Linked DNA regions of Homo sapiens: regions 1, 2, 3, 4 and 5 are each linked to region 6. Evidence: promoter capture Hi-C in human tissues and cell types (Jung and others, 2019). All regions are on one chromosome and are shown on one strand. Each heading gives the region's core, a stretch centred on a gene start or on the middle of the fragment in contact. The rest is flanking DNA. Distances are from core to core; before and after follow the strand shown. Region 1 holds the start of UQCC1 (ubiquinol-cytochrome c reductase complex assembly factor 1). Region 2 overlaps UQCC1 (ubiquinol-cytochrome c reductase complex assembly factor 1). Region 3 has its middle 53 kb from the start of ASIP. Region 4 holds the start of ERGIC3 (ERGIC and golgi 3). Region 5 holds the start of RBM39 (RNA binding motif protein 39). Region 6 holds the start of NCOA6 (nuclear receptor coactivator 6).

The links. The method cuts DNA at HindIII sites, captures the fragments that hold promoters and counts their contacts. A contact is called where the count stands out against the background at its distance.
Region 1: the fragment with the promoter of UQCC1 here is called in contact with the fragment with the promoter of NCOA6 in region 6 in 5 of the 25 tissues and cell types used here (heart left ventricle, heart right ventricle, hippocampus and 2 more).
Region 2: a contact is called between a fragment that was not itself captured here and the fragment with the promoter of NCOA6 in region 6, in 1 of the 25 tissues and cell types used here (lymphoblastoid cells).
Region 3: a contact is called between a fragment that was not itself captured here and the fragment with the promoter of NCOA6 in region 6, in 2 of the 25 tissues and cell types used here (IMR-90 fibroblasts and lymphoblastoid cells).
Region 4: a contact is called between the fragment with the promoter of ERGIC3 here and the fragment with the promoter of NCOA6 in region 6, in 1 of the 25 tissues and cell types used here (bladder).
Region 5: the fragment with the promoter of RBM39 here is called in contact with the fragment with the promoter of NCOA6 in region 6 in 2 of the 25 tissues and cell types used here (dorsolateral prefrontal cortex and hippocampus).

The regions. Positions count from the first base shown.
Region 1 is chr20:35,410,510-35,414,593 of GRCh38, forward strand. It overlaps UQCC1 (ubiquinol-cytochrome c reductase complex assembly factor 1), which reads right to left and starts at 1,464. Exons shown (of 10, transcript NM_018244.5): 1 at 1,431-1,464. The coding sequence starts at 1,454. RefSeq lists enhancers at 796-1,619, 1,210-1,309, 1,370-1,519, 1,620-2,442, 1,650-1,699. The HindIII fragment of the contact is 20,339 bases long and covers 1-4,084 here.
Region 2 is chr20:35,377,578-35,381,542 of GRCh38, forward strand. All of the region lies in intron 4 of UQCC1 (ubiquinol-cytochrome c reductase complex assembly factor 1), which reads right to left. Among named protein-coding and RNA genes, the nearest start is that of UQCC1, 32 kb to the right of the region's middle. The HindIII fragment of the contact is 4,785 bases long and covers 1-3,661 here.
Region 3 is chr20:34,186,617-34,190,415 of GRCh38, forward strand. It overlaps a transcript of ASIP not described here. Among named protein-coding and RNA genes, the nearest start is that of ASIP, 53 kb to the right of the region's middle. The HindIII fragment of the contact is 6,445 bases long and covers 1-3,799 here.
Region 4 is chr20:35,539,104-35,543,329 of GRCh38, forward strand. It overlaps ERGIC3 (ERGIC and golgi 3), which reads left to right and starts at 2,975. Exons shown (of 13, transcript NM_015966.3): 1 at 2,975-3,082; 2 at 3,220-3,290; 3 at 3,410-3,497; 4 at 3,719-3,838. The coding sequence starts at 2,995. RefSeq lists an enhancer at 2,647-2,736. The HindIII fragment of the contact is 35,337 bases long and covers 1-4,226 here.
Region 5 is chr20:35,739,306-35,743,630 of GRCh38, forward strand. RBM39 (RNA binding motif protein 39) reads right to left here and starts at 2,955. Exons shown (of 17, transcript NM_184234.3): 1 at 2,636-2,955; 2 at 1,519-1,582. The coding sequence starts at 1,569. RefSeq lists a silencer at 2,335-2,434 and enhancers at 2,695-2,844, 2,858-3,543, 2,905-3,124, 3,295-3,394. The HindIII fragment of the contact is 31,582 bases long and covers 86-4,325 here.
Region 6 is chr20:34,823,522-34,827,703 of GRCh38, forward strand. NCOA6 (nuclear receptor coactivator 6) reads right to left here and starts at 2,130. Exons shown (of 15, transcript NM_014071.5): 1 at 1,951-2,130. RefSeq lists silencers at 1,597-2,036, 2,047-2,236. The HindIII fragment of the contact is 14,831 bases long and covers 1-4,182 here.

The sequences.
Region 1 (4,084 bases), core at 214-2,713, 590 kb after region 6:
TGACAGAGCGAGACTCCATCTCAAAAAAAAAAAAAATACAAAAATTAGTCAGGTGTGGTGTGGTGCATGCCTGTCATCCCAGCTACTCGGGAGGCTGGCACAGGAGAATTGCTTGAACCCGGGAGCAGAAGTTGCAGTGAGCCCGAGATGGCACCACTGCACTCCAGCTTCGGCGACAGAGCAAGACTCTGCCTCAAAAAAAAAAAAAAAAAAAACAAAACCCTAAAGGGTGGCAGGGGAAGGATTAAAAAAAAAAAAAAAAAAAAAACCACTAAATTCAGAACATTCTAATTGCCATTTCCCCAGCAGTCCTCATTTCTGAATCAATTTCTGGCCTGAAATCAAACAATCACTTCACCAGGTGAATCTTTCTGGCAGTTACAGGGGCTACTCTACAAATAAATATTTACTGAACAGCAGTCGAGGGTACCTCACTCTGCTAGGCTGGCAAGGAATACAAGAAGTAAAACTGTCGTCCTTGTAAGACATATATAAAAAGATCAAAAACACAAATGTAAAATAACAATTCAGAAGTTACCTAGACACAGGAATAGACCATGTCTACTATGAAAAACAGTGTCTTTGACCCAGTTTTTGAAGACTCGCTAAAACTATACACTCTCCCATCCCTCCATGATTAAAAACTAAGCTCTGTATCCTAACGTTTTTTCTGCTGCCACTTTCTTTTCTCCTTTAATTGCTAGAGAAAAGAGTATGCTAGAAGGGTCAGGACTAAATCTCAAGAGGTGCAGTAGTTTCACACACGGGTGCTAAAGAGTCTGGTAGTCTTTCCTTACTTCATTCATTTATTCAACAAGTAATCATTTAACACCTATGATGTGCCAGACACCATGCTAGGCAAAGTGAAAACGACGGAGACAGACATGACTCCAATTCTCACGCAGCTTTCAATCTAATAATCTATATTCCACTTAACTGTACAGTTAAGAACTGACTTATTACCTATGAAAGAAACCCTGAGAATCTCAGAATCTAAAGGGACTGCAGGAGATAAATGTCCTCGTTTTTCACATAGGGTCAATGAGGCCCAAAAGTGACTTGCTTAAAGTCACTATGCATCAGTGACAGTCAGGGACTAGAACCCAGGCCTCCTGAAACTCCAATCAGTGTCCTACATGCTCCTCTCCCTGAGGGGAAGCAGGTACATGGGGGAGGGAAGGAAAAGTAAACCCCATCAAATAAAGGCCAGATGTCAGTCTTCCCCTTCTCGAAAGATGGGGGAGCTAAGGTCAAAACGGGGTAGGAAGAGGTCGGAAGCTGCCTCAGTTTCCCCACGGAAAAGCGGCCACTCAGCCTAGCTATAACACAGGCTTCCCTCCTGCGATTCCTTCCAATTCCTCCCGCCCTGCCTTGTCGAACTCCAACCCGGGACCCAGAGAGCTACCGTAGAAAATTACTCCTTCACTCACAAGGACTCGCACCAGCAACGCCATGTTCCTCAATAACCATTTCCGGGTGAAGAGTGAGTTTCCGGTGTCCCCTTTTCTACGTCCTCCTTTTGCCGGCGAAAGACTGGCAAGGGGGGCGCAGGCGCAAAGAGGTCGCTACGCGCACGCGCTGTTGTTTTCTCGGCTGTGCACCAGGCTGTCGTGCCCGGGCACGCTCTCCCTGCTGTCTCCCCCACTACACGTAACAGTGGTTCAAATCCTTCCCCCACGCCTGTCTCCTTGACCCCAGACCTCGGGGCTTCTCATATCCCTCTCTTTATTCCCCACCTAACCCAGCCTCACTCCTCAGCCCCTCCTTCCCAAACTCCACCCCAACACTTTTCAATGGAGGTTGAAAAGAACAGGACTTTAGGAAATCCCAATCTTTAGAAAGAGCCAGAAGACCGGGCGCGGTGGCTCACGCCTGTAATCCCAGCACTTTGGGAGGCCGAGGCGGGCGGATCACCTGAGATCAGGAGTTCGAGACTAGCCTGGCCAACATGGCAAAACCCCGTCCCTAACTAAAAATACAAAGAAAGTAGCCGGGCATGTTGGTGTGTGCCTGTAATCCCAGCTACTCTGAAGGCAGAGGTTGCAGTGAGCCGAGATCGCGCCACTGCACTCCAGCCTGGGCGACAGAGCAGGACTGGACTCTGTCTCAAAAAAAAAAAAAAAAAAAAAAAAAAAAAAGCCAGAGAAGGAGGCTAAGATAAAAGAATACGGGGGATACCAGACTCCTGAAAGTCAAGGCAAGAAGGCGGTCATGTGCCGATCTGAAGCCTGGTAGAGGAAGAAACTTTTGGGATTTGTGGTTGGTTGGTTGTTTAAGGGAAACATCTTTGCATATTGATAGGAAAAGATTAGTGAAGAGTATACAGGGCCGTGCCCGGTGGCTCATGCCTGTAATCCCAACACTTTGGGAGGCCGAGGCAGGTGGATTGCCTGAGGTCAGGAGTTCAAGACCAGCCTGACCAATATGGTGAAACCCCGTCTCTACTGAAAATACGAAAAAAATTAGCCGGGCATGGTGGCGTGTGCCTGTAATCCCAGCTACTTGGGAGGCTGAGGCAGGGAATCGCTTGAACCCGGGAGGCAGAGGTTGCAGTGAGCTGAGACTGGGGCACTGAACTCCAGCCTGGGTGACAAAGCGAGACTCCGTCTCAAAAAAAAAAAAAAAAAAAGAGTATACAGGAGAATCAATCAAAGAGGCAAGGAGCTTCTTGAGGAAAGTGGCAGAGAACGGCCTTGGTAGAAGACTCCTCTTCCATTACATCCCAAGAGAAGAGAAGACAAAGTACTGGTGCTTTGGGGGTTGAGGGAGCAGAGGGGCAGGATGTTGAAGGACTTCTTTCATTTCATTCAGTCAACAAAGACCTATTGAGTCTTCCCTATGTGCTGAACACAAGACATACTGGCTTCATGGAGTTCTTAGACTGGTGGGGGAGGCATAGGAACCCAGTGAAAAAAATTAAAACTGGGGAGCTACTTTGGTTAGGTTGGTAAGGCCTCTCCAAGAAAGTGACATGTAAGATGAAATCTAAAGGAAGAAGAGGAGCTAGTCATGGGAAATAACTTCACTCGACTATTTTTTTAATTAAATTTATTGATTTTTATTAATTGACAAAAAATATATATTGTGTACAACAGGATGTTTTCTTTTTTCTTTTTTTTTTTTTTTTTGAGACAGAGTTTCACTCTTGTCGCCCAGGCTGGAGTGCAGTGGCTCAATCTCGGCTCACTGCAACCTCCACCTCCCAAGTCAAGCGATTCTCCTGCCTCAGACTCCCAAGTAGCTGGGATTACAGATGCGCACCACCACGCCTGGCTAATTTTTGTGTTTTCAGTAGAGACGGGGTTTTGCCATTTCGGCTAGGACGGTCTCAAACTCCTAACCTCAGGTGATCCACCCACATCGGCCTCCGAAAGTGCTGGGATTACAAGAGTGAGCCACCGTGCCCCCGGCCAGGATGTTTTAAAATATGTATACATTGTGAAATGGCTAAGTCAAGCTAATTAATATATGCATTACCTCATATTTTTGTGCTGGAAATGTTTAAAATATGTTCTTTAAGCAATTTTCAAGAATACAATACATATTCATAGTGGGTATAGTCACCATGTTATACAATAGATCTTTTCTTTTTTTTTTTGAGACGGAGTTTCACTCTTGTTGCCCAGGCTGGAGCGCAATGGCGTGATCTTGGCTCACTGCAACCTCTGCCTCCCGGGTTCAAGTGATTCTCCTGCCTCAGCCTCCTGAGTAGCTGGGATTACAGGCATGCGCCACCACGCCCAGCTAATATTATATTTTAGTAGAGACGGGGTTTCTCCATGTTGGTCAGGCTGGTCTCGAACTCCCGACCTCAGGTGATCCGCCTGCCTTGGCCTCCCAAAGTGGCCTCCTGAACTTATCTCTCTTAACTGAAATTTTGTATCCTTTGACAAACATCTCCTCAGCCTCTAGTAACCACCATTCTACTCTCTACTTCTGTGTGTTCAACTTATATTCCACATATGAGAGAAATCAAGCAGTGTTTGTCTTTCTGTGCCTCATTTATTTCTCTTAACATAACATCCTCCCAGTTCATCCATGTTGTCATAGATATGAGCATTTCCTTCTTTTTTTTTTCCTTGAG
Region 2 (3,965 bases), core at 19-2,518, 550 kb after region 6:
GCAAAACAGACAAAAATCTCTACTCTCATGGAGCTTACGGCCCAGTTCAGCTACAGACAAGTATGTAACTTTAACTAAAATTTCTAATCATCTATTTCTTGATTTTTTTAAATCTTGTAATCTCCTTCAGATTCCTATATATAAAGTCCTGGGTTCATAATTAATCACCTTGCCTGGAGACTTGCCTTCAAGGCCCAAGGCCCAAGTCTTTCCTTGAGAAGGAAGCTTCCCCAACAACACGTTTGTGAAAAAGCATTCATCACAAACAATGAAGACTTCACCAGATTGGCCAGAGTATGTTTTCAGTGCTCATGCTATGGCAATCAGGAGCATTTTATAGTTCTTCACTTTTCCTGCTGCAAGGCCAAGCCTTTATACTTGGGTGAGCCATTTTCCTGGACAAATCTCTAAAACAAGTCTCTAAAGACTATCACACAGAGACTGGAAATAATAACTTGAGGAAAGAACCTCATCAAGAATCATGCACTGATCTGAGTTAAGGACGTAGGGGGACTGAATTTTCAACCAGTCAATACAAGTTGTTCTGGTCCTTGGATGACTTCATATTTATTTCATTTTAATTTTAGAAGACTTCATCAGTCATCTTTTACTTGAGTAAAAGAGAGGCACCTTGAACAGCTTTAGGAAATGAAAATCTGCTCTCCCACGAACTAATGCATTTTTTAACATCCTACAGGATGAAAAACAAATCTAGTAAAATGCTTGCATTAACAGCTATGTAAGAGTTTGAAAGGGCCTGGCAAGGTGGCTCATGCCTGTAATCCCAGCACTTTGAGAGGCCGAGGTGGGCGGATCATGAGGTCAGGAGTTCTGAGACCAGCCTGGCCAAGAGACCAGGGTGGCCAGTATGATGAAACCTCATCTCTACTAAAAATACAAAAATTAGCTGGGCGTGGTGGCAGGCACCTGTAATCCCAGCTACTCGGGAGGCTGAGGCAGGAGAATTGCTTGAACTTGGGAGGCAGAGGTTGCAGTGAGCCGAGATCGCGCCACTGCACTCCAGCCTGGGCGACAGAGCGAGACTCCAACTCAAAAAAAGATAAAAAAGAGTTAGAAGGGTGTTTTAAGTAATTTGAACCTTCTATTGTCTACTGGAAATCCTTCTACAGCATTCTTGATTCACAGTCAACCATCTGGGCCTCTGTTCAAACAAGACCAATGACCTTGTAAGGCTACCTGTCCCACCTGAGGACAATTCTTGTTAGATTCTTATTTTGCTAAACTTAAAATCTGCTTCATATAACATTCATTGAACATTATTCTGCCCACTGGAATACCTTCTTTTTTTCACATTTGCCCCTCAAATACCTGAGAAGAATCATCCTGTCTTCTCTTTTCCAGGCTAAGCATCCCTATTTCCTTCAACCGTTCTTAACAGTTTCTGAAATGTTCATAAGGCTCACTGCCTACCTCTGAATACATTCCAGTTTGTCAGTGTCCTTCAGAATAGGAATAACTTTTTGGCTTAATGCTAATATGGAAACCTATTCTATGGCATGTGGCTGAGTTGGGTAAATATTGTGCTTATCTCACCTGATACTGCATATAAAGGTAATTTTTTAAAATGATGATTCCAAGATACTCAAATAGGTAAGGGAAAGCTACATTTAAGATCCTAAACATGATTATCAAACATGGGAATAACACATGAAACCTAAAGAAAAAGATAGAGAAAAGATAGCTGATACTGCTGATGTGGACAGACATGCAGGTATTTTACTCCCTAATCAAATACATGTGAAAACACAAAACAAATAATTTTGCCAGTGCAATCCAATACAAGTGCATTGATTTGAGTCAACATTGCTGAAAACGGTTCTGTTTTTCAAAATGAAAAGTTACACATACATTTTCACATCTCAATTACACTAGAATGTCATACGTTGATATTGTGATGTAACAAATTTTAAAATGAAGGTTATAGGCTGGGCGCAGTGGCTCAATCCTATAATCCCAGCACTTTGGGAGGCCAAGGCAGGCGGAATCACTTGAGGTCAGGAGTTGGAGACCAGGCTGGCCCAACATGGTGAAACCCCATCTCTACTAAAAATACAAAAGTCAGCCAGGTGTGGTGGCATGCGCCTGTAGTCCCAGCTACTTAGGAGGCTGAGGCAGGAAAATTGCTTGAACCTGGGAGGCGGAGGTTACAGTAGGCTGAGATCACGCTACTGTACTCCAGCCTGGGTGACAGAGTGAGACTCTGTCTCAAAAAAATAAAATTAAAATTAAATAAAATAAAATGAAGGTTATAGAAAGTACACACCATCACATCACAAGAGTTTTAAAATGCAAACATTAGGGATTTAGTTGATGTCACAAGGGAACCAAGAAAAATCAGAGGCTAACTTAGGCTAAAAGAGCAAAGGAATTTTCCTGATGATTTAGTAATCCTCCAAATGATAGCCAATTTTCTCTCTAGAATCATTAAAAAACAGCCTAGACAAAACATATGGTAGCAACCAAGTGGAACCCAATCACCAAGAAATGAATAAAACTGTAAATGTTTCTTTTCTTTTTTTTGTTTTGACTTCCCTCTTAATTTCTAATTTTCAAACAAAACATATACTTTAAGTTTGTAAATCCAAATGCCATAAGCATAACATTTTTTTAATAGGGGAAAAGATTCTGGTTAAAAACATTACCAAGTATATCAACAATTATCAAGTGTCAAAAATTAAGATATTAAAAAATACAACTTTAAAGAACATAACTAATATTTCATTGGCAATTAAGAAGATACTTCATAACCTTAGGGACTCAAGAACATCATTGTCAGTATTTGTGTTCTTTCTATATTTTTTCAAAGCTCCTTAAAAACAAAATGCTTGTGGAATTACTGTTCACTTTTCAGAATTCAGGTAAAAGAGTAATTATAGAGAGAAGCTCATATTTGCTGTAGTGAGAATTGTTAGAAAGAGAACCAGACACCATAAGAAGAAACCACAAGTAGAAGTCTATAATAAAATTGAAATTCTAATTTGAATCCAACTTGTTAAAATGGTGTAAGTGGCATTACTTGGTTGTTCTCAGTAAAGCTTATATATTTTCTAGAAAAATCTTCCCTACTGCTTTGAGTGGGCTTGCTTTGACTTATGACTGATTAGGCTTACCCAATATTCCAGCAACCCTGAAAGGCATTAAAAGGCACTTCTGCCATAGTGAAAGAGAGAAATGGTATTACAGGTTGAGTATTCCTTATCTGAAACGTGTGGAAACAGCAGTGTTTTGAATTTTGGATTTGGGGGGATTTTGGATGCTTTGCATTATACTTACCAGCTGAGCATCCCAAATCCAAAAATCCAAAATGCTCCAGTGAGCATTTCCCTGGGGCATCATGTCTAAAAACTCCAAACGTTTTAGATTTTGAATTTCCAATTTTCCAATTTGGGATGCTCAACCTGTTCTAGGAGATAAGTGGGCTGAGAAGAACTGAATCGCTGATGTTTTATTTCTATAATTGGTTAGAGGTATTATTATAAAAGCCCAGGGGCAGTATGCATCTGAGGCAGAGAGGACATTCATTCATTTATAGCCACTACTATTATAACAGATAATGTGCTAGGCCAAGAGTTGACTGGGAGTGACATGGTTAACAAATATCCCTCCATAATAAGAATTACAATAGATCGTGGGCTTAATTAGTTAATAAAAAGATGATTAGTAAAATTTTAAAGAAAATCCCTTATAAAATATGGGTCCATCAGAAAGTAATGCTTCCTTAAGAATGTTGCCAATCAGAACATTTGGCCCATCTGACCCCTCAGAAGTCATCTATATGGCATACCATGCAGCAAGGGCCTGGAAAGCCCAGTCTTGTTGCCATGCCTGCTACTATGAGATGCTTCTAAGGAATCAGGTGGAGGGACTAGTTCAGCCCCACATGTTGTATAGATCTGACTGGAAGCAGCAAGAGGTTGTGGCACGTGGGCAAAGATATTTTGAAG
Region 3 (3,799 bases), core at 1,136-3,635, 640 kb before region 6:
ATACAAGGATGTCATCACCAAAGCTGGAAAGAAAATGGGCCACTGATGGTGACATGATTTAATAATGAGGCCAGTTCTCATTTTTCTATTGGGAGCTTGGTAAGAATTCTCTAGACAGTAGACAATCCACAATTCACTTATATTTGACTTTGGAATTTGGGGTAGCTTTGGCAGCAGTAGGTTGTTTTTGTTTTGTTTTGTTTTGTTTTTGTTTTTGAGATGGAGTCTCGCTCTGTTGCCAGGCTGGAGTGCAGTGGTGCGATCTTGGCTCACTGCAACCTTCACCTCCTGGGTTCAAGCGATTCTCCTGCCTCAGCCTCCTGAGTAGCTGGGACTACAGGTGCGTGCCACCACACCTGGTGGCACCTAGTATTTTTACTAGAGACGGGGTTTCACCGTGTTACCCAGGATGGTCTCGATCTCCTGACCTCATGATCCGAAGCAGTAGGATTTAACTTCCTGATTATGTTTAACTTGGGTTGAAAACTGAAATAATTAGTAGTCTTTGGGAATGCCCTGATTGATCAATGAGGCACAAAGGAGAACCAATCAATCAGTCACTTAGAACTTGCCATCAGTGATCCACAAAGGGGTGTGAGAGTCATAAATAAATAATTCTGGTGGTAGTCCTAAATTGGTTCTTTTTTTTGTATTTGGTCATAGCACTAAACTAGGCTGGGAAGAAAGATTCTCGGGGCAGAATTCTGAAATCTTTGCCTTAGCTGTGTAACTGTTCAGAGAGGAATTTCTTTTCAACTTGTCTTTTCCTTTGGCCTCTAAAGTTCTTCTCAGAGAAAAAATCAATCCCCTGCTCCAGGCTAGGGCCAAGTGTGTAAGGTTTGTCAGTTTAATCTCTGTCCACAAGCCTAATCACTTTAAGCTGGCCTGTCCTGGGGCTGAGAATCTACTGACGGTGTTTTCGTCTTTCTCTTAGGAGGATCGTGAATTTCCTAAACTGTCTTTGAGAGACTCAGATATTTTATTTTATAAATGGCAGTGACAGATGTTATGTATCCATTGCTAATGTTATCTGTACAAAATCAAGAAGATATATTACAGTGGATACAAACCTAGAGTGCCTTTTGGATATGGCAGGTGAGGAGTGTTCCTTGATGGTTTGTTTTCAGTTCAGTGCAAGACACTCCTGAAGCACATCACTTACTATAAATGACCTTTAAGAGGAAAAGATACTTTGGAGTTACTCTATCACTTGAAAATGGGGCAGGACCATTACAAGAGTAAATATAGTTATTTATGAAAAGCCAGATCTCCAAGTCCAAAAGGAGAGAAATAACTATTATTCATATAGTTCAGTCCTTAGAACCAATTCTCCTCTGCTGTGTATGGCATTTCCACATCTTGTTTAGACTTCAGGCTGAGCCTGTAATTGTTTGGCTGTGGGAAATGAGGGAGTGTATTTCAGAAAACCCATCTTCCCCTCGCACTTCCAGGGTCCTATTCAGATCGACTTGTTCTGCTACCATTTTACCCATACCCAGCATCCCGATATTTATTGAGCATATTTATGTGTGCCATTCTATCCTAGTTCCCAAAGGGGATACAAAAACGAAATTATACGCAAGATGGTAGAGCATTTACACAAAATCGTAAAGGAGGTGAAGTTGGCCAGTTTAGTTTTTTCAGTTTACTTGGGGAACTCATTAGCCTGCTTTCAGCCCTTTTGTCTCCGAAAGCTTAGAACATGTACTGCTGGTGGTATGTGAGATGGTTTAAGTTAAACAGAAGATGACTTTAGGCGGTAGATGGACAAGCATAAGATTATCACATCATGGAAAAGTAATTTCCTTTTTAATTTGCTTTCAAGCCTGGATTCATCTAGAAGAAAGTCTCAGTGGGGGTTGATGTGTCATTAACATATTCCAAAACTTATTCCCTTTTAACATATTCCTTTTTAATCAAGAAAATAGACCTCAGAACTGGAGTGCTCTCCTGGTAACAGTAGTTATTTAGAATTTATTGACATTGTATTATTAATTTTTTCTAGGATTATATTCTGTTTATGAAAAATGACAGTAACATGCTATAAATTTTCCAATTTACACGAATGTATTTAAGCTTTGAAAAAGTTATTAGTTGATTTAAAGAAAAATATTGAGTAAATAATAATATAGCTGGGTTGGAGATATGGTTGAAATCCTGACATTGCTATTCAAATGACTGAAGTTTGGGAGACACTTCTTTCCCCCACCCGGAGCCCAAACAAAATTACTATTTGTGACCCATTCCTGCCCTCTGCTTTACCTAAACCAATTCAGGATCATGATAATGACCAATAATATAATAAGAACCATACTTCTCCCTATAAGCATTATGATAGGGCTCTGAGATCTTTAACCTAAAGAGTCATTTTAATGGTAGAAATTTCTAAAAAGACAGGATAATATATTTGTAGTAGATGAAACTGTCACAATAATGACACTATCGAGTGCTGTCATTTAGACTTTTTGAGTATTCTCTAATTCTCACAACGACCGTGAGGCATTTTTCAGATGAGAAAACTGAGGTTCAGGGAGGTTAAACAAAACCTCAAGCAATAAGGAGCAGAGCCACGGTCTGGTGCCTAGAACTTCTGGCCATGTGGGTAGCTTAACTGCTCCCCCTAAGGTTTGTTTTCTTTTTTTTGAGATGGAGTTTTGCTCTTGTTGCCCAGGCTGGAGTGCAGTGGCGTGATCTCGGCTCACCGCAACCTCTACCTCCCGGGTTCAAGTGATTCTCCTGCCTCAGCCTCCTGAGTAGCTGGGATTATAGGCATGCACCACCACGCCCGGCTAATTTTGTATTTTTAGTAGAGACGGGGTTTCTCCATGTTGGTCAGGCTGGTCTCAAACTCCCAACCTCATGTGATCCGCCCACCTCGGCCACCCAAAGTGCTGGGATTACAGGCATGAGCCACCACACCTGGCCCTGCTCCCCCTAAGTATTAGGCAAACCCTGGAGAAGCCACACGGATGAACAGCCTGAGGAACTCAAGGGAGCATGTGAATAGGTGCACAATAACACATTATAACACAGGGAAACTCTGAAATACTATGGGAGGAAGTACGTTCAGAGTAGGTGAGACCAACTGAAGGAAGTGGGGACTCTACCAAAGGAGTCACCTCATTGCATTTATCTCTGCCTTGCATTCTACCCCTCTGCCTTACAGACCTCCTTGTAGGGCCAGGTCAGGCTTCATGTCTCCCACCAACCCCAGTCACTCAGAAAGGAGCAAGTACTCTGGTTGCCATATTTCTGTCTCTGGAAAGGATGCCTGTCTTCCCAGTTGGGAAGACCATTCCTCAGCTCGGTCCGGTGGACTGCTGCCTGTAGGACATGCAGAGGCAGGCAGGCTGCATCTGCTTCTGGAGATAAGCTCCCGCTGCAGAGCTTTTGTCAGGTTGGCCACTGTCCCGCAACAGCCTTTCTAACCCAGCGCCATGGACCAGCTATGCTCTTCACCAATAGCCTAGGCAAGAGCTTCAAGTGCTCTTAGGAGTCATTCCGTGTGATGCTAACCTGGGGCTTCAAGCCTACCATTGGGAATCACTATCCCTTGTGACACTGTGTCCAGGCCCCACCTCCTGCCTGTCCGATAGATTGGATTTCTTGCAGTGTTGGCATCATCCCAGTCACACCTCGTTTTACCAGGTATTTTATAGAACCTCCCAGATGAGAATTAAGATAATGAGTATGAAAGATAATGAGTATGATAATGAGTTGAGAAATTCCAAAGCCCCAGAAAAATACATAAGATGATATCACCAAACCTTTCCGCCCACTCTAGAGTGTAGTCCTTGGA
Region 4 (4,226 bases), core at 1,725-4,224, 720 kb after region 6:
GCCTCCCAAAGTGCTGGGATTACAGGCGTGAGCCACAGCGCCCGGCCTATGTTTTACATATATAACAATTTATATATAACTACATATATAATATATATAACAGTTTATATATATATATAACAGTTTATATATATAATATATATAACAGTTTATATATATATATATAACAGTTTATATATATAATATATATAACAGTTTATATATATAATATATATAACAGTTTATATATATAATATATAAGTTTATATATTATATATAACAGTTTATATATAACAGTTTATATATAATATATATAAGTTTATATATAACAGTTTATATATATAATATATATAAGTTTATATATAATATATATAAGTTTATATATATGTTTATATATAATATATATAACAGTTTATATATATAATATATATAACAGTTTATATATATAATATATATAACAGTTTATATATATAATATATATAACAGTTTATATATATAAAATATATAACAGTTTATATATATAATATATATAAGTTTATATATATAATATATATAACAGTTTATATATATTATATATATATATATGCACACACACAAAGAGAGAGAGAGAGACTCGCTCTGTCGCCCAGGCTGTAGTGCAGTGGTGTAATCACAGCTCACTATGAGGCAGGAGAACAGGGAATCAGGGTAACCGGGGGTTAAGACATAAGCAAATGAAGGGGTGCAGCCAGTTCTAGGCAGCATACAGGCCACATCTTCAATCCTATGATAACGAGACAGAAGTTTCCACTTCCGCCTCCGATTGACCGTGGGGCCAAATCTCCACTTCAGCCTCTGATTGGCTGTGGGCCAAGTCTCCACTTCAGCCTCTGATTTGGTCGCAGGCCAATCCTTCATAGGTGTAGCCAACTGGAGGCTTCTAAAGGGCACCTAGGGGTGTTGCCAGGTCCCTTTAGCTTAATACAAACCCTGATTGAGGAGGCTCTTGAGCAGCTTGCTCTAACCAGCTGCCGCTATGAATCGTCTTCAATAAATCTATGCTTTTGTTATTCCGTTCTTCTGTTGCTGTTTGTCTTTCGTTGCCCTTCTGTTACTTTATGTGTTTTGTTCAACACGCCAAGAACCTGGACAACTCTATGCTGGTAACAACTGCAGGTAACCTGGTAACAACTGCAGTTTCAAACTCTCCTGGGCTCAACCCCAGCCTCCCAGGTAGCTGAGACTATAGACGCATGCCACCACACCTGGCTAATTTTTTTATTTTTATTTTTATTTTTGGAGACAGAATCTCACTCTGTCGCCCAGGCTGGAATGCAATGGCATGATCTCGGCTCACTGCAACCTCCGCCTCCCAGGTTCAAGCGATTCTCCTGCCTCGGACTCACAAGTAGCTGGGTTTACAGGAGCACACTACCACGCCTGGCTAATTTTTGTATTTTTAGTAGAGATGGGGTTTCACCATGTTGACCAGGCTGGTCTCAAACTCCTGAACTCAAGTGATGCTTCCTGGCTCGGCCTCCTGAAGTGCTAGGGTTACAGATGTAGTTTTTAAAGTTTTTGTAGAGTGGGGTCTTGCTGTGTTGCCCAGGCTGGTCTTAGACTCCTGGCCTCATGTGATCCTCCTCGGTCTCCCAAAGTGCTGTGATTACAGGTGTGAGCCATTGTGCCCAGCCCAATTTTTAATTAAAAAATGGAATGATGGAATGCACATTACTTTGCATCTTTTCCCCCTTAAAAATACATTCTTAGTATACCTAAAGGAGTAAATCTACCTCATTCTTTTGAAAAGTGGCCTAATATTCCATAGAATGGGTGTATCGTGATTTATTCAATTTATTTAATGTATCAGTGGGCATTCTGGCTGGTTCCAGATTTTTGCCATTGAACAATCTCATGCATACATCTTTATGATGTGGTGCACTTAAAATCTTTAAGAGACAGATTCAATATCTTAAGGTGTAACAACCACCCAGATCATGGTACTTTTATCCTTATATTAAAATTTTTTTCTGTTAACCTTGGATAGCTGCTTACATATTTTTTCTTTTTCAAAATTTTTCTATTAACCTTGACATGGTGCTTTTACTTCCTAAAGTGGAATTCCTGTATGAAAGCCTATGAGCTTTTATATCTTACTCATTGCAGCTGCATTACTGTGGGAGCTGTCCCTCTAGAGACACTGGGCTGCAATGGGAAGTGTCAGGGAGAGCTTAAGCTCCATATCACTTGAGTCTAAACCTGGAGGGATAGAGCGTGTCCGTGAGGATCCCAGGGCCTGGAGAGCAATTTAGGGTAATATTCAGAAAGCAGCGCTCAGGAGAAGCACTGGGACGCTGTTTAGGTAAAATCAACCCAAAAGACCCTGATTCCCAGAGTACTTTGAGGTCCAGAAGAACTGGGCTGGAAGCAGGTCCTGCTATTAATTGGCTGTGATCTTGGGCAAGTTATTTAACTTCTCCAGGTCACAGTTTGCTCTTTGGAAAACGGAGATAAGTCACACCTGCTTTCAGGGCGGACACCCTTACTTTACATCAGAATCATCCGATGCCATTCCTAGCGTTTCGGCTTCAGTAGGTGGGAATCAATTATTTGCATTTCTAATAGGTAATCAGTTGATAATGATGCGGCCGGTCCGGTACACTCGAAAAACCACTGTTCCAGGATATTCCAAGATGTTCCAAGAGTCTTAAACACCTGGTGCAGTTCCGAGCACAAGGCACACGAACGGTGCTATTAGCGTTTCTAACCCCGCAGAGAACTCCTCGCACCCCAGTCCTCAAAATCCCGCCCCGGACAGCGGAGGCCGGGGCAGTAGCTTCCAGACCCAATTGCCCGCGCAAGGGGGCGTGGCAGCATCGTTGGGCGGGGCCGCCTGTAAGAGAACGCGGCTAAAGGTGGGGCCAAGCGTGCGGTTTGCTGCGCCTGCGTGAGGAAAAAGAGGGGGGCGTGGCTCCAGGCCGGAAGAGGGAGTCTGTAGGGGCGGGCCGGCTGGCGTCCCCTTTCCGGCCGGTCCCCATGGAGGCGCTGGGGAAGCTGAAGCAGTTCGATGCCTACCCCAAGACTTTGGAGGACTTCCGGGTCAAGACCTGCGGGGGCGCCACCGGTAGGCCGCAGCGGGGCCGGGGTCGCGTGGAGGGGGGCGTCCTAGAGCTTAGCCCGGGCTCCTGGACTCTGACTGGCCTGCCGGTGTCTGAGGGAGCGGATTCGAGGCCATTCTGACCCTCGCCCCTTGTCCTGCAGTGACCATTGTCAGTGGCCTTCTCATGCTGCTACTGTTCCTGTCCGAGCTGCAGTATTACCTCACCACGGAGGTAAGGGGCGGGGCTTAGTGCGTGGGCGGGGCTTGGCATTCTAGGAGTAGGACCTTTAGGGGTGGGAGTGGGGAAGGAGAGGTTTGGGGCTAAGTCTTACTGAGGTAGCGCTGCCCCAGGTGCATCCTGAGCTCTACGTGGACAAGTCGCGGGGAGATAAACTGAAGATCAACATCGATGTACTTTTTCCGCACATGCCTTGTGCCTGTGAGTACCTCACCATGGGTGGGACTGGAGAGACCCAGGGTTCTCATGTGGGCTGCCAGATTCACACCTCCACCCTTAGGTTCTGGACTGGACCCCAGGACAACCTCCTTCTCCTCATCCCGTTCTGCCCCAAGACAGGCCCAGTATCCCCTTCCCCTCCAAAACCCACATCCCCTTGTCCCTAGGGTCCCAGTACCTTAGCCTGATTTTCCTGCTTCCAGATCTGAGTATTGATGCCATGGATGTGGCCGGAGAACAGCAGCTGGATGTGGAACACAACCTGTTCAAGCAACGACTAGATAAAGATGGCATCCCCGTGAGCTCAGAGGCTGAGCGGCATGGTAACCAGGGGAGGGGGCCGGGTCTCAGATCCCAAAGCTGGATGTACCCAAGCCTATCTGCTAGCAAGTGAACTGTGGCAGGCATAGTGATACATTAAACAACTAAGAGCTAGAGAAGTCAAGTGACTTGCCTAGGGTCCCCCAGCTAGTAAGAGTCAGAGTGAGCTAAAATCCTCTATACATATCGAGTCAGGTAATCTACCTGGCTATTATTCTCAGAGGTCCTCAATACCTGCAGATGGTAGTTTGAATACCAGAGGTTTGAAGATAGGTCTTATGTGCTCTTGCCTTGGTAGAACTGTCTAGATGGACCCAGGCTTCTTTGAGTGTTTGCTTTCCCAGCCCATTGGCTTAATTCAGCCCTTAATGCTCTTCCCCTTTGGAATGC
Region 5 (4,325 bases), core at 1,705-4,204, 920 kb after region 6:
TGTTGAAGTGGTTAAATATAATTTCCATAAAACATGAAGTCCTGTTTTGAGTTTTATTCCATGTGCTATGGTCCCTTTGGTCAGTACCATGGCTCTATTTCTGCCTAAGCCCCAAGTGGCCATGCTAGCAGCCAGCCACTATCGATTTCCTGTGACCGATGCCATTCCTGAGATCTTCGCCCATTTCCGTTGGAGGGTTGGGACTGTAAGAGCTTGATGCCACCTCTGTCACACATCTCGCCCTGAAGCAAACAGGGATTCACACTGCTTTAGTAATGTTGACTCCCAAGAACCCAAGAAAGTCAATTAATAATCCACCAAGTCCAGCCTAAACATTTCCTACTTCCATACCTGTTTACATGGAATTACATCCATGTTAAAAAAAACTAAGACACAAGAATCTTAACATTAAAACAGAAAGTAGCTCTTCAAGAGTCTAAGCATTACAAAATTACATACACTATTTAAATCTATCAAGAATTCATCCAAATTGGTACCACATGGTCGTGCTATACAATCCAAAACAAATGTATTATTTTTAAAAGGTTTAGTGAAATGTTTATTTTAAAGTTTGATTACATCAGCTATAGGAGTAAAGTGCTAACTTACAAAGCTTACAGTTTGTGACACCAGTGATAATGCATGCATACTGCTATTTTCACCACCAACTGGTGAAACAATGAAAAGACAGTTTACTTTTACTGAGATACCGAAATGAGTCAAAGACTATATTAGCCAATATAATTCCTTTGTTTTTAGTGTGAAATACTATGGTAGGGCCTAATTAAAAATAAAAACAATATGGAGAACAGTAAAACAGTCATCAAGTGACTCTAAGCTTGTATTTACTCTAAGCTTGTATTAAGCTTGTATTGACTCTACTGCCTCTTGTATTTTTTTTTTTTAATTTCTATTCAGGGATCCAAGAATTTTAGTAATTATTAACTGAGCAGCAGATTGCCACTGGACTGTTTTAAGATTTACTATCACCAGTCTTACATAGATACATAAATTTTAAAATCTCACCCATTTCTTCTTATAAGACTGTTAGAAGATTTAACTTGCCACAGACTGGTCATGCTTTGTTATTCTTGGACCCCTGCTTTTTCCCAAACCACTACATTCACCTTTTTGCTATACCAAACTGGAGGTGGTAATTCTTAGTTGAGTCATTTTACCTAGGGGACCACGGTACAGCGATAAGTCACTCAATTACTACCTTATGATTGACAGTTCACACTGGAATCAAAGGTGAATTCATGGGAGTAGAGGTGAGATATCGTTAGGCAAGTCTACAAAGAGAGATAGATGGGCATTTATTCATCACGCTGAAGTGAAACTACTGCACAATATTATTACATCAATAGCATATATTTACTTTTGTAAGTTACACGTAATGCATCTCTGATAAGATAAATCAAGAGGGCTCCGGGGAGGTTAGTTTACATTTCAGCAGTAGTTTCGTGAATAATGCTAAATTAAGAAATATATAAACCTCACCGACATGTTTTTTCTCACCTTCTTGTAAGGAGCCTCAAGCATTGCTTCAATATCAATATCGTCTGCCATTTTCTCTAAACGCCTAGGAAGAGAACAAGACAATTTCTTGAGTAAACATTTCTCTTACAATGTGAAACAAGTTTCACTCTTGTTGCCTATATCGTCTAACATTTTCTCTAAACGCCTAGGAAAAGAACAAGACGATTCCGTGAGTAAACATTTTTCTTTTTTTTTTTTTTTTTTTTTGAGACGGAGTTTCGCTCTAGTTGCCCAGGCTGAAGTGCAGTAGCGCGATCTCGGCTCACTGCAAGCTCCGCCTCCCAGGTTCCAGCGATCCTACCACCTCACCTCCCGAATAGCTGGGATCACAGGCGCCTGCCACCACGCCCGGCTAATTTTTGTATTTTTGGTAGAGACGGGGTTTCACCATGTTGATGAGGTTGGTCTCGAACTCCTAACCTCAAGTGATCCGCCTGCCTCTGCCTCCCAAACTGCTGGGATTACAGGCGTGAGCCACCGCGCCCGGCCTGGTAAACGTTTTTCAAATCGACTGAATTTTTCTTCTCAGCCGACACACTCGAAAACTTAAGAAAAACCTCCAAAAGCCCTACAATTAATGACTAAAGTGACATGCACTTTAACCAGGTTTGGCTTACGTAAGTAAATCCAAAACGCCTCTTACACGAAACACACGAAAATGAAGACTTCAATATCCAATATTTAAAACTCTGCTGTCAACTCCAAAAACAGAAACTGGGAGACCCGAACGAGAGCGCCTCTTTCCGGGCAAAAACCCGCGCTGCCATTTTAGGGGCAAAGAGAAACTCCCTCCATTGGGAGGGGTTATGAGCCAAGGCAGCGTTCAACTGGCGCCATGTTGGGAGGTCGCGGCCGGCCCAGGCCTCGAAGGAGACAGGTCACCATTCTACCGCGGCCTCTCGGGGGTCCCTACCGCCCCAAGAATCCAGACTATACCCGACTGGAAAATAAGGGCGCGGTCACTGAAACAGGGCCGATTTCTCGAAAACCACCCCCCACCCCGGTCGCTAAAGACCTCCAAAAGCGCCCCTCAGCCCAAAATGGAGCCAAACCTCGAGAAAGCTGAGATAATACGCGGGTCCGCAACGCCCCGTACCTGTTCCGGCCTTCGGGCGCCTGTGGTGCTCGTGTTCGGGAAGAGATTGCTGCTGCTGCTGCTGCTGCTGCCGCCGCCGCCGCTTCTGTTGCTACTGTTAAGCCCCTAGGCCCAGGCCGCGGAACCGCCCAGCCCGAATATCGGGTTCCAAGGACGGCTAGGCCCGAGAGAATCTAAAAAAAACAATGGAATTAGAGAAGCCCACGCGGGAGAGCAGGACGGCGGCTTCGGCAGCTCAGGATCCACCCCTGCGACAGCGTCGACAAGCTCCCTGAAATGGCGGCCGCTGCTTCCCTGTACTCACATTCACCAGCACACATACACACACACAAACACACGGGGCCTCACAGAGCCCTCAGCACGGGCTCTCGCGAGAAGCTGCCCCAAGCTCCAAATTTGAGCGGCCGAAGTATCGCGAGACCTAAGTATGGCTCCGGCGACCGTAGCCCAATCTCGCGCAATGATTGCGCCACAGATATTCCCATCCCCCATTCAGTGAGGCGCCTTTCACTCCCCCTCCGCGTAAGCACCCAAATCTCGCGAGACAGAGCGGGTCTCTAGGGCAAAGACAGTTGGTAGGCTGCCTGTCAATCTTTCAGAGAGCTCTTCGCTGAGTGGAGCTCAGCGGTCACCTCCCCCTCGTGGCGCCTCCTCACGGCCATCTGAAGATTCCTCCGGCACAGCCGATCGCCCCCGCTCCGGCCTCCCACACAGATGGCTGTCAAGGTCGCCATAAGGCAACCTAGTCCTTATGGCGATAGGATAAAACGGCCATATTCAGATTATCCGCTGAGGGTGGAGAGGAAGTGGAAAAGTGTATCAGAAGGCCAGAAGAAGAGATCTTTAGGGGTAGGGGGAGAGGGGGAGATAATAAAAATAGATTTCCCTGTCATTTGGAGCCAATGGCGCGGCCTCCACTGTCGAGCTTTGAAACAACCTTGGAAATAGTGGAGAAAAGCAAAAAAAAGGTGGAAAAAATAAACTCTTGCTTCCCTTGGCATGGGATCAGTTTTGTGCCCCGAATTTAATCAGCTCTTGTGTCAGGGTTGCTACCGTTCCTTCAAAAATGTTCCCCTTCCTGAATATTACTGGACGATTTGGTGAAAAAATAAGACACCCCCCCAACAAAAAAAAAAAGGCCCCCTTCCCCCTGGGACCTGGCTCCTCTCCCCTGAAGTCTTCTAGATGCCAGGTAATTAGAGTATGAATTAGCCATTTGTTCTTTGGTCAGTACTGTGTGAGGTTTCCTCCTAGATGCTGGGAAAAAAAACTGGAAAGAAGTCTTCAAAGCAAAAATCTTACCCTCTAATCTTAACAGTCTAATGATTGAGGGCAGAAAAGATTGGAAATGAGACGCCTTGATTAGTGTAACTAGCTGCTGCAACACTGTGTGACCTTGGACAAGCAAATTAACCTCTCAGAGGGGATCTTTCATTTCCTGATTTAAAAGAGGACGTACTTAGTAGCTAGTCTAAGCTACTTGAGACTGAGGAAGGCAGGTAATGCTCAGTACTGAATTTTTAGAGGTTAGCAGGGCATGTCTGCCCAAGTGGACCCTCAGTAAATTAATGAATGAAGGCTCAGAAGGGCTATAGTGAAGATTAAATGATATAATGTCTGTAAAACGCCTGGTAAATATTTGATCTTCAAAACAGCTAACTTCTGTTTCTGCTAAACAAAATTATTTAGA
Region 6 (4,182 bases), core at 880-3,379:
AATTTGCATATTTCCTTCAGAACTCTCCCATAGCCCATGCGAACTTTGAATTCTTCTCTAACATGATCCAACTTCAATTAATAAAATAGAGACTCTGGGTGTCTACAATTTTTCACTTTTCTTTTTTAGGATTTTGTGTTCCTTTGTGGTAAACACCTAGAAGAGAAGGAGCATCTCTCTTTTTTTTTTTTCTTTAGACAGTGTCTTGCTCTGTCGCCCAGGCAGGAATGTCATGGAATGACCATAGCATGGCTCATTGCAGCCTTGACCTCCCAGGCTCAAGCGATCCTCCCACCTCAGCCTCCTGAGTAGCTGGGACTACAAGTACAAGCCACATCAGGTGGCTAATTTTTTTTATTTCTTTTGTAGAGATGGGGTCTGCCAGCTCCTGGGCTCAAGAAATCCTCCCACCTTGGCCTCCCAAAGTGTTGGGATTACAGGCGTGAGCCACTGTGGCTGGCCGGAGCACCTCTTAAAACTCTAGAAAGTTAGAAGGTCTCAAAGATAACTTCTTTGCACAATTAGAGATGAACCAGGAAATACCAAATAACTGGCTGCCTATACTTTTTTGTATTCCCTTCAGCCTTTGTATTGCCACACTCATTACAGGAAGAAAACAAATTTAATAGTTATCTGGTATATACTGTTATGCTTCATTTCTTGTTGTTTTTGTTTGTTTGCTTTTAGTTTCATCACAAGAATGTTATGCTTCATTTCTTAACACCTTTCTCCCAGCTAGCAAATTCCTTTAAGGCAATGTGTTTAGTGAGGAAGCAGCCGACAATTTCTAGTACCCCTCTGCCACTAACTTGTAAGATCTTGAAAAGTCAACTTTACCTTTCTATGTTTCAGCTAAAATCACTACCTGATTTGAAATCTTTACTTGATCTCTCAGGCCTTTGTAGTTTTTATACATTCACTCTTCTTCACCATTTTACTGGCTTCAATAACGCCTTTCTGATGACCTCTCCAGGTGACTCTGCTCTTAAGCTGTGGGCTGTCCCCTTCCAGGGAAGACACCTTGGGTCACCGCCCCCAAACAGCCAGGTCCCTCCTTTTAAAGACACACACAACTCCCTAAGTTGATAAAGGTTCTCTCCTTCCTTGCCAACCAGTTCCACTCTCTGTGCCTCTTTTGCTGGCCAGCTCCTGCACCCAAACCTCAGTCTCCCTTTGTCCCCCTTTTCTCTCATCAAACACCTCCTTTTTCCTGTTGCTTCCCCCAAGAGGGGGTGGAGGATGCTTGGGACATAAGTCTTCAGAGCCTTGGGAGTTATACAGCTTTGCAATTCAGCCCCAGTACCCCAAGGACTGCCCCAATCTGAACCAGCGTCTGTACCCAAAGGGCCCTCATTCCTCATCAATCACCTCCTTCCCTCCCAGCAAAGAACTGCTCCAGCCCTGACAGCCTGAGCTTGGCCCCCATGCCTCCACCCCAATCCCCAGGTCCTACCTGCATTAGGGCTCTAACACCGCCTAAGGCCTAACCCAGTTCCACGTCCTGCCATCCTCTCAGCCCATAGACCCCAATCCCGGTTCCCTTCGGACCCAGTGTTCCTTCTCCGCGACCCTGACCACGACCCCACGACCGGCTCCCGCCTGTTCCCCAGGCCTGGAGCGCCACCCCGTGCAGACCCCGGCCAGCCCTGCACTCCCTCAGTGCACCGGCCCCCGCGCCCAGCACCCTCCCCACCCAGCCCGGCCGCCGCTCCCTCCAGCGCCCCCGCCCGCAGGCCTGGGGCCCGCTCCCCAACATGGCGACGGGGACACAAGCGCGGCGGGCGGGGCGGCTCCGGGCCGGGCCCGCTCTCAGACCGTGCCACTCGGTCGCCCGGCGCCATTTTTCCGCGCGGGCCCGGGCGGCGCCTCCTCCCCGCGAAGCCAGCCCGACAAGGACCGCGGACGCCCGGCGGGCCCACCCCTTACGGGCCCGCGCCGCCGTCCCCTCACCTGAGCGCGGCCCCGGCCCTCCCGGGCGGGCCTTGGAGCGCCGGCCCGGGCCGTGCGTGCCCGCCGCCCTCGGTGCGTCCGTCCGTCAGTCCTCGCGTGCGCCCGTCTGTCCCGCCGCCCGCGCCCGGCCGCCCGCAGCCCGACCCGGCAGGGCCTCACGGAGCCGGCGGGGAGGGGGATGGGCCGGACCGGGCCGGGGAGGGAGGGGGAGGGAGGGAGAGAGGGAGGGAGCGCGAGAGGGGGCGGGGCGGACTCGAGGGGCGGGGCATTGCCCACGTGACCAGACGTCCCCGGGAGCGCGAGGTGGAGCGCGCGCCAGCTCCCTTCGGTGCTGAGTGCTTAGTGCTGGGATCTCGTGGGTCTCTGTCGGCTTTCCAGGGCTATTCTCTCGCCAGTGAGTCCCACTTCGGAAGCACACATTGCACAGTCTTTTGCGAGCGCTCTGAGTATCCTTGGACATGGCAACTCCAAGCCTCAGTTTACCCATCTGAAATATGGGGAAAATCATAGTGCTTGTGAAGAGCAAATGGAGGTGGGCTTGGAAAGCACTTGTCACCGTGCCTGACACATACTGTCTAATAATAAGCTTAATGGGATATAGATAAAAGCTTTCATTATTATTTGCCTCTAAATCCCTCTCTTCTTTTTCCCATCATTACCTCCCTAGCAAGCTAAAATGCTCAGTAAATAGAATTATTGATCGAACGAGTGTGGCCCCTCCCCTCTTCCCAAACGTAGAAAGGCCTCCTCAGCACTGGACTTCATGTCTGTCATACAGGCCTGGATTCATATCTGGCTTTCACTCTTTTTTAAAAATTTTCTGTTTTTTCCCACACTACACTGATGTATTTTTTAAATTTTCGTAAGTACGTAGTAGGTGAATATATTTATGGGGTACATGAGATTTTGATACAGGCATGCGATGTGTAATCACATCATGGTAAATGGGGTATCTAGCAACTCAAGCATTTATCCTTTGTGTTACAAATAACCCAATTATACTCTAGTTATTTTAAAATGTACAAGTAAATTTTGTGTGTGTGTGGTTTTTTTTTTGTTTTTTGTTTTATTTTTGTTTTTTTGAGACGGAGTCTCACTCCGTCGCCCAGGCTGGAGTGCAGTGGCGCGATCTCAGCTCACTGCAACTTCCGCCTCCCTGGTTCAAGGGATTCGCCTGCCTCAGCCTCCTGAGTAGCTGGTACTACAGGCGCATGCCACCACGCCCAGCTAATTTTTGTATATTTTTTAAGTAGAGATGGGGTTTCACCATATTGGCCGGGCTGGTCAGGAACTCCTGACCTCATGATCCGCCCGCCTCTGCCCCTCAAAGTGCTGGGATTATAGGCGTGAGCCACCGCGCCCGGCCAATTGTTTTTTACTGTAGTCACCTTCTTGTGCTAGCAAATACTAGGTCTTATTCTTTCTAACTATTCTTTTGTACCCGTTAATCATTCCCACTTCCCACCTACCTCCCCATTAATCTTACCAGCCTCTGGTAACCCTCCTTCTATTCTCTATCTCCATGAGTTCAATTGTTTTAATTTTTCGCTCCTGGCCCGGCATGGTGGCTCACGCCTGTAATCCTAGCACTTTGGGAGGCCAAGATGGGCGGATCACCTGAGGTCAGGAGTTCAAGACCAGCCTGGCCAACATGGTGAAACCCTGTCTCTACTAAAATACAAAAGCTAGGTGGGCATGATGGCGGGTGCCTGTAATCCCAGCTACTCAGGAGGCTGAGACGGGAGAATCTCTTGAACCTGGGAGATGGTGGTTGCGGTGAGCCTAGCTCGCGCCACTGCACTCCAGCCTAGGTGGCTGAGTGAGACTCCGTCTCAAAAAAAAATAAAAAATAGTTAATTTTTTGCTCCCACAAATAAGTGAGAACATGTGAAGTTTGTCTTTCTGTGCCCGGCTTCTTTCACATAACATAATGACCTCCAGTTCCATCCATATTGTTGCAAATGACACGATCTCACTCTTTTTTAATGGCGGAATAGTATTCCATTGTGTATATGTACATTTTATTTATCCATTCATCTGTTGATGGACACTTAGGTTGCTTCCAAATCTTGGCTGTTGTGAACAGGGATGCAGTAAACATGAGAGTGCAGATCTCTTCCATACACTGATTTCCTTTCTTTCCGGTGTATACCTAAGAATGGGATTGCTGGATTGTATGGCAGCTCTCTTTGGCTTTCGCTCTTGATAGCTGTCCTTGCCTCTCTGAACTTG